3 separate regions of the Homo sapiens genome follow, and all the other regions are linked to region 3. Evidence: promoter capture Hi-C in 16 types of primary human blood cells and fetal thymus (Javierre and others, 2016). All regions are on one chromosome and are shown on one strand. Each heading gives the region's core, a stretch centred on a gene start or on the middle of the fragment in contact. The rest is flanking DNA. Distances are from core to core; before and after follow the strand shown. Region 1 overlaps AMBRA1 (autophagy and beclin 1 regulator 1). Region 2 overlaps CSTPP1 (centriolar satellite-associated tubulin polyglutamylase complex regulator 1). Region 3 holds the start of F2 (coagulation factor II, thrombin).

Region 1 (3,918 bases), core at 958-3,457, 290 kb before region 3:
AAACTGGAATTCGGTTGCTGACCCAGCCCCAGCCTCGGCTTTCTTGTCGGCACCAGGTGGCACAGCACTCCGTCTGTAGGTATCTCTGTCAGCTTCCCCTCTTGTGAGTCTCGCAGGTCGCTCACCCTCCAGACCTTTAGGCCGAGGCCTGCCAGTCTCTGGACGGCTACGGCGTAGGATGGCAGGCACAATCTCTGGGGGCAGATGAAGGTAATCACGGAGATACTGGATACCCTCATTGGTAAGGTACCAGTAGAAATGTCTCCAGGCAAACTGTTCCTTCACGTAGCCTCGGGACTTGAGAGACTGCATGGCCTTCATGACATGAAGGTTGGGCACATTCTTGTCTGCCAGCTCCGGGTGCTTAGGCATGTGGACATCCTTCTTGGCCACCATGACTCCCTCCTTAAAAAGGAGTTCATAAATGGCAATCCGGTTCTTCTTAGGCATCAACATCTGGCAGGTCTCCGCCACGCACTGGCTTCATCCTCCCCCTCTCCCTCGGACAATCTTCGCCTACCAGCGGCCCCCTACCCCATAAAATAAGCCTCCAGCCCCTATCGCTACTCAGAAATCGGTGTGTGGGGAGTGGGAGAGAGGCCCCCTGCCCGCATCCTGGGGAGGAGCAGCCGCTAAGGTGGCAGGATAGCCCGGATGGGAGCCGATGGAACTCGAACTCCACAGAAAAACCTTTTCCACTTCTTACTAAACCACTTATGTGCCTACAATCCCCACTTATTGGGAGGTGGGGGGGTGGTCCATGTTAATTCCAGTGTTGAAAGCACTAATCCTTATTCTTGCTTTCTAGCTCAAAATGCCCTAGCTTCGTCCTCATGTCCCTGAACCTCCCTGCCCAGTTGCAGGCTTCTGCCCCTATTCCTAAGTAACACAGCACTTACTGAGATACAAACTAAAGGAAGAATGTGGTATATGACTCTTTCTGGTTTCATCAGTAATTTTGTATTTTTGTTATTATGCTTTCACTTGGTTACAACCAAAGTTATTATACTGTGCAAGTTGCCACTATTTTAGAAAATTAATTGCAGTTCTCTGTTACAATACTGTGCCTGGTTCCAATTAGAAAATGAAAGCCGAGAGGGAACACAGGCAGTTTAGTGTTTTGAGAATTCAGCAAAACTTCAGCTCAGCAGTCTCTAAAAGCTTAACCTAAAAACAAAACAAAAATTAACAAAAAGCCCTCTCTGGCTCAAGCAGAAGGGAATCAGACAGAAAATAAGATTCTGAGTCATAGAGAGTAGCATATCCAGTCTGGAGGAATCGCAAATGGACAGTGGGAAGGGAGAGAGAAAATATGTGCCCAGTCTTACTTTCCTGACTTACCCATCATTAAAACTGGGAGGACTAGCACGATAAACAGAGAAGGGAAAGATCAAAAGGACCCTAGATCCTAGAAATAAGGACAAAAATTAAAATGATTCAACATAAAGAAAAGACTCCAGCACATACAGCTATTCAAGGGAGAAACCTGGAAAGCAGCAACAGCCTAGAAAAGATGGGAGGTGAGGCGCAGACAGCCAAAAAAGCTGAGTTTGGTAGGAAACAGAAGACAAACACCACTGTGCCTGCAACATAATTAGCAAAGAATCAAAGCACCATGCACAAAACCACAATGGCAAGTAGACCTGAGACTGACTCTGCCTTGCTGAGGAGGCTGAGGGCAGACACCTAAAATGAAGAAATCTTGTTTTAAAAATACTAATCCTGGGTCCCTCTGACTCCCATTCTTATTCTGATTTTAGGTCTGAAATGGATCTGTATTTTAATAAGGACCCATGTAGTTCTACTGTAAGTTGTCCAAGAACCACAGTTTGAGAAGCACTGATCCAGAAGTCTGAAGAACTGCTTAGAGTAAGTGCATCAAGGCTAATAGCAATTAGCAATTCATTTTCAGAAGAGTTTTCATATGGGATTGTGTCAGAGATCATCTCTTGGGGAGAGATGTCACTTAGTGCCATCTTAAAATAAATCAATGCTCTGGAGGATGTTCTCCTGGGAATGTCTGTTGGCCCAACACATTTGCCTCTCTGAACATTACCACAGTGAATTCCAAGAGGTAACACCAGACAGAAGGGGAATTCTGGGTAGCAAAGCTCTAGGACAGGCCCATTACCCACTAAAGCATTCCTTTATGGTCAGAGCTTGACATTAGAGATGGAGACACCCACCTATACTTACCTGTGCAAAGAGGGAGATGCTGTACTGTCCCATTAAACCCTTGCTCCCTGTTCTCAGACAAAAATTCACTTCTTGCCTTAAACGGTGATACAGCACAGCTATCCAAAAAAGCTGGTGTCTTCCCTTCCACCAATCACTGAATTCAGGGACATTTGCTGAGTGATCTGGTGCCTTTGGACGTAAGGGGCAACCAAGACCTGGAAAACCAGAAACCTTTCTGTAGCATGGGGGTTTAAAGTCAGACTGGGTGGACACTTGGTTGACCTAAACCTTGTTGAGATGCCTTGATCCTGTCTCTTGGGTGACAGGAACACTTCCCAAATGGGAACTTTCTAGGTACTTCAGCTCCCTTTCTTAGTGCTTGGTGGCAGATGGTACCTACTGAGAATCAAAAAAGGTTCACCAGGCAGCCTGGCAGTAGTAGTAGCTCCAGTCACCAAGCATGCAGCTGCTGGCTAGCTGCCTTGAGACCCTTGGCAGGACAGCCAGGGGCTGACTGGATTACCACATCTCCTCAGCAGAGAACCACATTCCTTGAGCTGCCAGCCCCATATGTGACAACAGATCCCATCACCTTGGCTTCTGCTTTGTAACTGTTTGTCTTCAGCCAGATGTTTCTGGCTACTATGGAAAAGTGGAACTGTGCTAAGATGGAGAACTGGCAGGCTGTGTGCAGGAGCTGGGCAAGAGCCCTGGCTTATGAAAGAAGCTAGAGAGGTCTGTCAGAGCTACCAACATCAGATTCTGTCTCTTAATGATTTAAACGATTATTCCACAATTAGGCCGGAAGGGTTAGAAGAGCAGCTGTTGGGACTGGGATTCCAGGTGGTGAAAAGCAGAGACCAGCTTCTGCTTAAGAGAAGCAAAAGAAGAATATTTAAATGAAAACTCAACTTCCATCCTCAAATATCTAGATAAGAAAATAGACTTGATGAACATCCCACAATGACATCTCCTATTCACCCAATGTCAAATATTTCCAGCCATATGGAATTCAAGATCAGAACTTTCTTGTCATTGTGATATCAAGAGGACAGAATGACTTGTTTTCCTTTCAGAAGCTTGGTGGGACATGATGTTATGTTACCCATCATTGGTTCTGCTAGTTACCACCTAGAAATGATAAAGAGGATGCTTTATTTTTATTTATTTATTTTTTTTTGAGATTCTCTTTCATTCATTCATTCACTTTCTACTAAGTGTCAGGTTCCGCATGAAGTTCTTGGACTTCATAAAGATAAAACAGACACAGTCTCTATTCTCAAGGAGCTCACAGCCCAGGAGAAGAGAGTGACATGGAAACAAATAACTGCAGTTTGGTGTGACAAGTACTGACATGAGAATGTGTAAGAGGTACAATGATAGCACAAGGAACGAGTGATCAATTCTATTAAGATGGATGCCACAGAAAGTAAAAAGCTTGCAGGTAGCTGGAGATAGGGGACAGGAGGGCATTCCAAGTAAAGGTACCCTGGCAAGAAGGCACTTTGACAAATTCAAGAAGCTTGAAAAGTGGCTCAGTGTAGTTGGACAGAGGATATCTGTAGGAGACAGGAGGGAGAAGAGGCTGGAGAGGAAAGGACCACACCAGGCCACCCACTTTCTATCACTTTGTATATAATGGGTGCTATCTCTAGTTTTTTTATTTAAAACAAATGCTTCCCATTCCAGATATTCAACAGCCATCTACATGCACAGCACTAAATGAGGGACCTGAGGGAT
Region 2 (3,864 bases), core at 628-3,127, 420 kb after region 3:
GGGCAGAGGTTGTAGTAAGCTGAGATTGTGCCACTGCACTCCAGCCTGGGCAACTGAGTGAGACTCTGTCTTTAAAAAAAAAAAAAATCAAATAAGTAGAATTGTATATGTGGTCTTGGCCAGGCATAGTGGCTCACGCCTGTAATCCCAGCACTTTGGAAGGCTGAAGCAGGAGGATCATTTGAGGTCAGGAGTTCAAACCCAGCCTGGCCAACATGGTGAAACCTGTCTCTACTAAAAATACAAAACTTAGCTGGGCATGGTGGTGCACATCTATAATCCCAGCTACTCAGGAGGCTAAGGCAGGAGAATCACTTGAACCCGGGAGGTGGAGGTTGCAGTGAGCCGAGATCATGCTGCTGCACTCCAGCCTGGGCAACAGAGCTAGACTCTGTCTCAAAAAAAAAAAAAAAAAAAAAAAAAACCACGACCAGGTGCAGTGGCTTACGCCTGTAATCCCAGCAGTTTGGGAGGCCAAGGTGGGTGGATCACGAGGTCAAGAGATCGAGACCATCCTGGTCAACATGGTGAAACCCCATCTCTACTAAAAATACAAAAATTAGCTGGGCGTGGTGATGCACGCCAGTAGTCCCAGCTACTTGGGAGCCTGAGGCAGGAAAATCGCTTGAACCCAGGAGGCAGAGGTTGCAGTGAGCCGAGATCGCGCCACTGCACTCCAGGCTGGTGACAGAGTGAGACTCCATCTCAAAAAAAAAAAAAAAAGTGTTTTTTTTGTGACTAGTTTCATGTTTTAGGTTGGTGTAAAAGTAATTGTGGTTTTGCCATTATTTTCAATGGCAAAGACTGCAATTACTTTTGCACCAACCTAATAGCACAATGTTTTCATGGTTCATCCATCTTGCTGTATGTATCAGTACTTCATTTCGCCAAATGTTTCTTGAGTGCATATTTTGTGCCGGGAGCTATTCTGCAAATGGGGATACAGTCATGAATAAGATATAGTTCCTGCCCCTCAAAGAACTTGATATAGAAGGGGACTGCTTAGGTACTGGTCATTGGCTGCCACCACTCTGTGACGTATGACCTTGGTTTTGATCAATCACTCCAGAATACTGACCTCTTTTCCCTTTCCCATGATGTGAGGGAGCTTATGAGAGTGAGGCTTCAAAATGCATCTTAGCCCCCCGCAGCCACAGCTTTGCATTTGCCCCAGCTGTCTCCTCAGACCCTTCCAAACAATCTGATACATGAAAGCACCACAAGATTTGAGTGTAGGTGGTAGAATCCTGTAAGAACCAAAAATTCTCGATACCAAGGTAGAATTGTACAGTTATTGATACCAAGGGGCTTCTGGAATGGTATTCCTCTATTTGCGGCTGGAAACTTACCCACTCCTCACCTAGAGGCCTGCTGTTTGACAGACACCTCAGACCTTTCTGTCTGAGCAGGAGGAAGCATCGTAGCCAGTCCATATCAATAGCAGTCTGAGGGAATTATGGGAATGGCAGTAACAACAGAAGGGCCAAGGGTAACCCACATGGCACTGGCTGCAGTTAGAGATGAATTCAGAATTAGGATAAGTTTGTTTTCTCCCCGAGTATGAGCATCAAGCTTCTGTGTCAACTTCTCCTCCCAATGCCATGCTTTCCCCACTGTACTGCAGCTGGTGCATATGTAGAAAAATTGTATGTATCCCAGAAAGCATCCCCTGATTTTGTAAACTATTCTCATTTTGTCCTGAAGATCAGGGTCCCAGCTTCCCCACACACATACCTATGCATCTGATCAGAACTGCAAATGGAGGTGGTAGAGACTTCAAGGCAGTTACTATTGCTAGAAGAGGAACTGCCCTCTCCCATTTCACTGCCAGGCTTACTTTATTCAGGACACTGAAGTCTGGGGACAGGCTGCAGAAGCAGGCTCCAGTCTGTGATGATGTGTGCGTAAAAGAATGTAATCCACATGCAGCTGGAAGCCGGAGCCTGTTCAGGGGCATGGTGTCTCCACATGCGCCTGCCTTATGTGCTACAAGCATCATGGCCAGGCCCTGGGGCAGCAGGTGTGAGCTGGAAAAACAGGAAAAGAAAAAGCAAACAGACTCCATGACAGCAGCCAAGCCAGAGATCCCCTCCACCTCACATATTCCTGCAGCAACTGGAGTAGTTCTTTTATCCCCAGATGATCACCACAGCATCTCCCACTCCCCATCCTCCATGGACTGGAAGCTTTCTGGATGGTTAAGAGCATGCAGTTGGAACCAGACTTCTTGAGTTCAAATCCTGGTTCCACAATATACTAGCTGTGCCCTTGAGAAAGGTATTTAATTTGAGCCTGTTTCCTCACTTGTAAAATGGGAATAATAATAGTTGTAATGATTGAAGGAGAAGTATATGATGTGCTTAAAATGGTGGCTGGCACAGAGTAAACTTGTCATAATCGTTAGAAATGGTAATATTAACCTTGACCTAGAAGAACACAGGCCCCATGGCATTAGAAAGATCTACTGTACATCCCACCTGTGCCCCATTAACTGGATGACCTTGAGGATATCTCTTAACTTCTCTGAGCCCTGTTTTTATATCTGTAAAATGGGGATGATAATAATAATAGTAACTAACTCATAGGGTGTTTGTAAGATTTCAGTAACACCAACAAAACCATGAACACTGCTTACCACATTGTAGACATTAAATCAGTAATAATTTTTTTTTTAGATGAAGTCTTGCTCTGTTGCCCAGGCTGGAGTGCAGTGGCGTGATCTTAGCTCGCTGCAACCTCCGCCTCCTGGGTTCAAGTGATTCTTGTGCCTCAGCCTCCCAAGTAGCTAGGATTATAGATGCCCGCCACCACGCCTTGCTAATTTTTTGTATTTGTAGTAGAGACGGGGTTTCACCATGTTGGCCAGGCTGGTCTCGAACTCCTGACCTCAAGCGATCTGCCTACCTCAGCCTCCCAAAATACTGGGATTACAGGCATGAGCCACCACGCCTGGCCAGTAGTAATTTCTTGCTGTTACAATTATGTTGGTATTATTAATAGTACCAGATTAAAAGAAAAATGAGATGTTCCTGGGTTTCCAAAGGCAATGCTTCCTGGCCTTTTTGCACTTCACAGCAATCAGAAAATAATATATAACAAAAATCTCCAGTAAAGACAAGACTTCTTGTGATTGGCCTGCAGGCTCTGGCCTCCTCCCAGCTGGGCCAAGGGGACCATCACATCTGTAAGTCATTTGAGGCCGAAGTGACAAAGGGTTGGGAAGCTCTGCTCCAAGGGTGAAGATTTAAAGCACTGGTTCTCAAACTTGAGCATGCATCAGAGTCACCTGCAGGGCTTGTTAAACCACACATGGCCGGACCACATCCCCAGAGTTCAGTAGGTTTAGGGCGGGGCTCAATAATTTATATTTCTAAAAAATTCCCAGGTGATACTGATGGTCTGGGAAACACACGTTGAGAACCACTGATTTAAAGTATTGCCTGCCATTTTTTTTTTTTTTTTTTTTTTTTTTGAGATAGAGTCTTGCTCTGTCACCAGGCTGGAGTGCAGTGGCATGATCTGAGCTCACTGCAACCTCCGCCTCCCAGGTTCAAGCGATTCTCTCGCCTCAGCCTCCCAAGTAGCTAGGACTACAGGCACGCACCACCATGCCTGGCTAATTTTTGTATTCTTAGTAGAGACTGGGTTTCACACTGTTGGCCAGGATGGTCCCAATCTCTTGACCTTATGATCTGCCTGCCTCGGCCTCCCAAAATGCTGGCATTACAGGCGTGGGCCACCGCACCCGGCTGTATTGCCTGCATTCTTATTCTGGCTGGGCATGGTGGCACACGCCTGTAATCCCAGCACTTTGGGAGGCAAAGGCAGGTGGATCACTTGAGGTCAGGAGTTCGAGACCAGCCT
Region 3 (3,657 bases), core at 1,013-3,512:
CCCTAGCATGCACTTGGGAGCTACTTGGGAGGCTGAGGCAGGAGAATCACTTGTACTCAGGAGGCCGAGGTTGCAGTGAGCTGAGATCACGCCACTGCACTCCTTTCTGGGTGACAGAGTGAGACTCCATCTCAAAAAAACAAAACAAAACAAAACAAAAACAAACAAAAAAACCCAACAGGTAGGTAGCAGTGGTTCACGCCTGTAATCCCCACTTTGGGAGGCTAAAGTGGGCAGATCACCTGAGGTCAGGAGTTCACGTCCAGCCTGGGCAACATGGTGAAACTCTGTCTCTACAAAAATACAAAAATTAGCCAGGCATGATGGCGGGTGCCTGTAGTTCCAGCTATTCGGGAGGCTGAGGCAGGAGAATCGCTTGAACCTAGGAGGTAGAGGTTGCAGTGAGCCGAGTTCACGCTATTGCACTCCAGCCTCCATCTCAAAAACAAAACAACAAAAACCCAAAATATATATTATAATTTTATTTTATTTATTCAATTTTATTTTATTTTATTTTATTTTTCTAGGAACAGGTCTCATTCAGGCCAGGCATGGTGGCTCACGCCTGTAATCCCAGCACTTGGGAGGCCGAGGTGGAGGTGGGCGGATCACCTGAGGTCAGGAGTTCGAGACCATCCTGGTCAATGTGGCGAAACCCCATCTCTACTAAAAATACAAAAATTAGCCAGGTGTGGTGGCACACGCCTGTAATTCCAGCTACTTGGGATACTGAGTCAGGAGAATCACTTGAACAGGGAGATGGAAATTGCAGTGAGCCGAGATTGTTCCACTGCACTCCAGCCTGGGTGACAGGGCGAGACTCCGTCTCAAAAAAAAAAAAAAAAAAGAAAGAAAGAAAGAAAGAAAGAAACAGGATCTTACTCTGTTACCCAGGCTGGAGTACAGTGGTGCAATCATAGCTCACTGCAGCCTGGAACTCCTGGGCTCAAGTGATCCTCCTGCCTCAGCCTCCTCAGTAGCTCAGACTGCAGGCATGCACCACCATTCCCAGCTAATTTTTAATTTTTTTTTGGTAGAGATGAGGGTCTTGCTATGTTGCCCAGGCTGGTCTCAAACTCCTGGCCTCAAGCGATCCTGCCATGTCGGCCTCCCAAAGTGTTGGGATTACAAGTGTGAGCCACTATGCCTGGCCTAAAAATATATATATGAAAATATATAAGAAATGGGCCTCCCAGGAATTAAGGTGTTTGCGGGAGTCCTGGTCCCCAGTTTTTCTGCCAACACTCCCTGTTCCCACACATGACCTGGTCCAGACCCCAAACAGCCAGGCCCAAAGGACAGGTGAGGCGAGGCGAGAACTTGTGCCTCCCCGTGTTCCTGCTCTTTGTCCCTCTGTCCTACTTAGACTAATATTTGCCTTGGGTACTGCAAACAGGAAATGGGGGAGGGACAGGAGTAGGGCGGAGGGTAGGGTAGGACCAGAAGCCTCTCTAGGCCTGCCATGGGGCAGGCAGCCAGGGAGAAGGAGGGCCCCTCAGTGGAGACCCAGGGATTTCAGTAGCCCCTGTTCCGGGACAGGCGCAGGTCCTGGGAGGTGACAGAAGATAGACTAAAGGCCCAAGAGTCCCTGGACCTGACTCCTCCCAGGCAGCTGCCACACACAAACACACCTCCAGGCACCCTGGACAGGAAGGAGGAGAAATGGGCCCCTCCTCCAGTGGCTGAGAAGCTGGGGCAAATGTTGGCTGTTCCTATCCCTGGTGCATCCCATGGCGAGGGGCAACTTCCATCAGGCCACACCTTTTATCTTTGTCTCTATTTTTGATATCTGTGTATTATGATTATACAAACCCCCACATTGGCCTATATGTGCAGATCTGATTAAGAACTTACGATATTCCATGGACATTCCATTCCTAATCTCCTTTAGTCCTCACAACAAAGTATTATTCCCATTGTATAGATGAGGAAACTGAGGCACACAGAGATGACAAGCAACCACCGCTATATGTTAGGATTCGAAGGAGCTCCAGGAAAGTCTCATAGCCCCACTGGCCAGAATGGGCTAAATCTCAGAGGGGGAGGGTGGGAGATGGGGGTGACAGTGACCTTTTTTGTGACTCCTCCTAGACCATCCATCCCTGCTCCCAGGAGGACCTGTCCTCCCAGATGGTGGAGATGGACAGGAGGACTATCTACCCACCCGTCCCCACGGCCCTGACCCTCTGACCTCACCCTCTCCGCTGATTTCTTCATGTTAGTTCAACATTAACCCAGAGGGGTCAGGACAGACAATTCCTCAGTGACCCAGGAGCTGACACACTATGGCGCACGTCCGAGGCTTGCAGCTGCCTGGCTGCCTGGCCCTGGCTGCCCTGTGTAGCCTTGTGCACAGCCAGCATGGTAAGGGAGTGCTTGCAGGCTGGAACAGGCTGGAGGACTGGGGTGTGGGCCCATGGGCTGGGGTCTCCTGGCTGGACAGAGCACACAGAGCTGGCCCCTAAGTAGGTCTCAGCCCCAGGCGGCCAGCTTAGGGAAGAAGTCAGGAGCTCAGGGCTGGAAAGAGAATGGCTGCTTCTCTCTTCCAATATAGGGAGCAGGCTGGGGGCAAGGGGCAGTGTAGGAGGGGCACAGGGGGCCACATTTAGCAGCCTTCCAGGCACTTCCACCAGCCCAGACAGCCTCTCTCAGAAGCCAGCAGGGGAGGGTGGGCTTGCTTCATGCCCCCAGAATGGCCAAGACTGCCTGTTCCTGAGGCCGCTGTCCCATGACCCCCCCACCGCCTTACAGTGTTCCTGGCTCCTCAGCAAGCACGGTCGCTGCTCCAGCGGGTCCGGCGAGCCAACACCTTCTTGGAGGAGGTGCGCAAGGGCAACCTGGAGCGAGAGTGCGTGGAGGAGACGTGCAGCTACGAGGAGGCCTTCGAGGCTCTGGAGTCCTCCACGGCTACGGTGAGCCTGGGCTGCTCGGACGGTGCCGGGGCCTCAGACCGGGCCCAACTCTAGACACTTCCACAGAGAAGCAAGCGAGGAACGCCACAGCCCCTTCGCTGCTCACAGCCTCATTTCAACTCTGAGCCCCTCCTCACAGGGCTGGCAAGAGGAGCGGCCTCAGCCTTTCCTGGGGGTCTCTGTGCCTGGACTGTGTCCCTGTGCAGCTCCATGACATGGGGAGGCCTCCACAGTCTTCAGACATCCACCTGCCCTGGAGCTCTGTGTCCACATGGCCTCCTCAGCGGCAGACTCCCACACCACCCTTGAGGGGTGGGACTCTGGGGAGGCCACCACAAGCCCCCGGGCTCAAGACTCAGTGTTCCTGGAGCTCTGTGTCGCCTTTCCTGTCTGTAGGGCTCTGCCAGGGTCCCACTGCCCCCTCTCCTCCCATCTCCCCCAGCCTCTTTCAGTCTCGGTGTGTGTGTTGGAGGAACTCCCCTATCCTCAAATATTCTTCTCCTTTTGGAAACAAAAGTAGGAAACTCTGCCACAAACCTCCCCAGAGCCTGCCCCCTGCGTGACCAGGGTAAAGGAAAGTGTGAGGAGGAGACATAACATTTACTAAAACAACACAAAACAGGAGCTGCCGTAGCCTCACTCCCAGCCCTTGTTTTTCAGGATGTGTTCTGGGCCAAGTACACAGGTGAGCACCGGGAAGGATTTGCCCCAGGAAGGGAGGCCTGGGGACCCCAGTGAGAGAATT

The links. Contacts are between HindIII fragments. The CHiCAGO score rates a contact against its expected background, and 5 or more counts as called.
Region 1: a contact is called between a fragment that was not itself captured here and the fragment with the promoter of F2 in region 3, in 1 of 17 cell types (M1 macrophages). The highest score is 5.3, in M1 macrophages.
Region 2: a contact is called between a fragment that was not itself captured here and the fragment with the promoter of F2 in region 3, in 1 of 17 cell types (M1 macrophages). The highest score is 7.6, in M1 macrophages.

The regions. Positions count from the first base shown.
Region 1 is chr11:46,428,695-46,432,612 of GRCh38, forward strand. The region is part of intron 14 of AMBRA1 (autophagy and beclin 1 regulator 1); the gene reads right to left. It also overlaps the pseudogene RPS10P19. Among named protein-coding and RNA genes, the nearest start is that of MIR3160-2, 21 kb to the right of the region's middle. The HindIII fragment of the contact is 2,096 bases long and covers 1,160-3,255 here.
Region 2 is chr11:47,141,535-47,145,398 of GRCh38, forward strand. The region is part of intron 4 of CSTPP1 (centriolar satellite-associated tubulin polyglutamylase complex regulator 1); the gene reads left to right. Among named protein-coding and RNA genes, the nearest start is that of ARFGAP2, 33 kb to the right of the region's middle. The HindIII fragment of the contact is 614 bases long and covers 1,571-2,184 here.
Region 3 is chr11:46,716,951-46,720,607 of GRCh38, forward strand. It overlaps F2 (coagulation factor II, thrombin), which reads left to right and starts at 2,263. Exons shown (of 14, transcript NM_000506.5): 1 at 2,263-2,364; 2 at 2,752-2,912; 3 at 3,573-3,597. The coding sequence starts at 2,286. The HindIII fragment of the contact is 4,700 bases long and covers 1-3,657 here.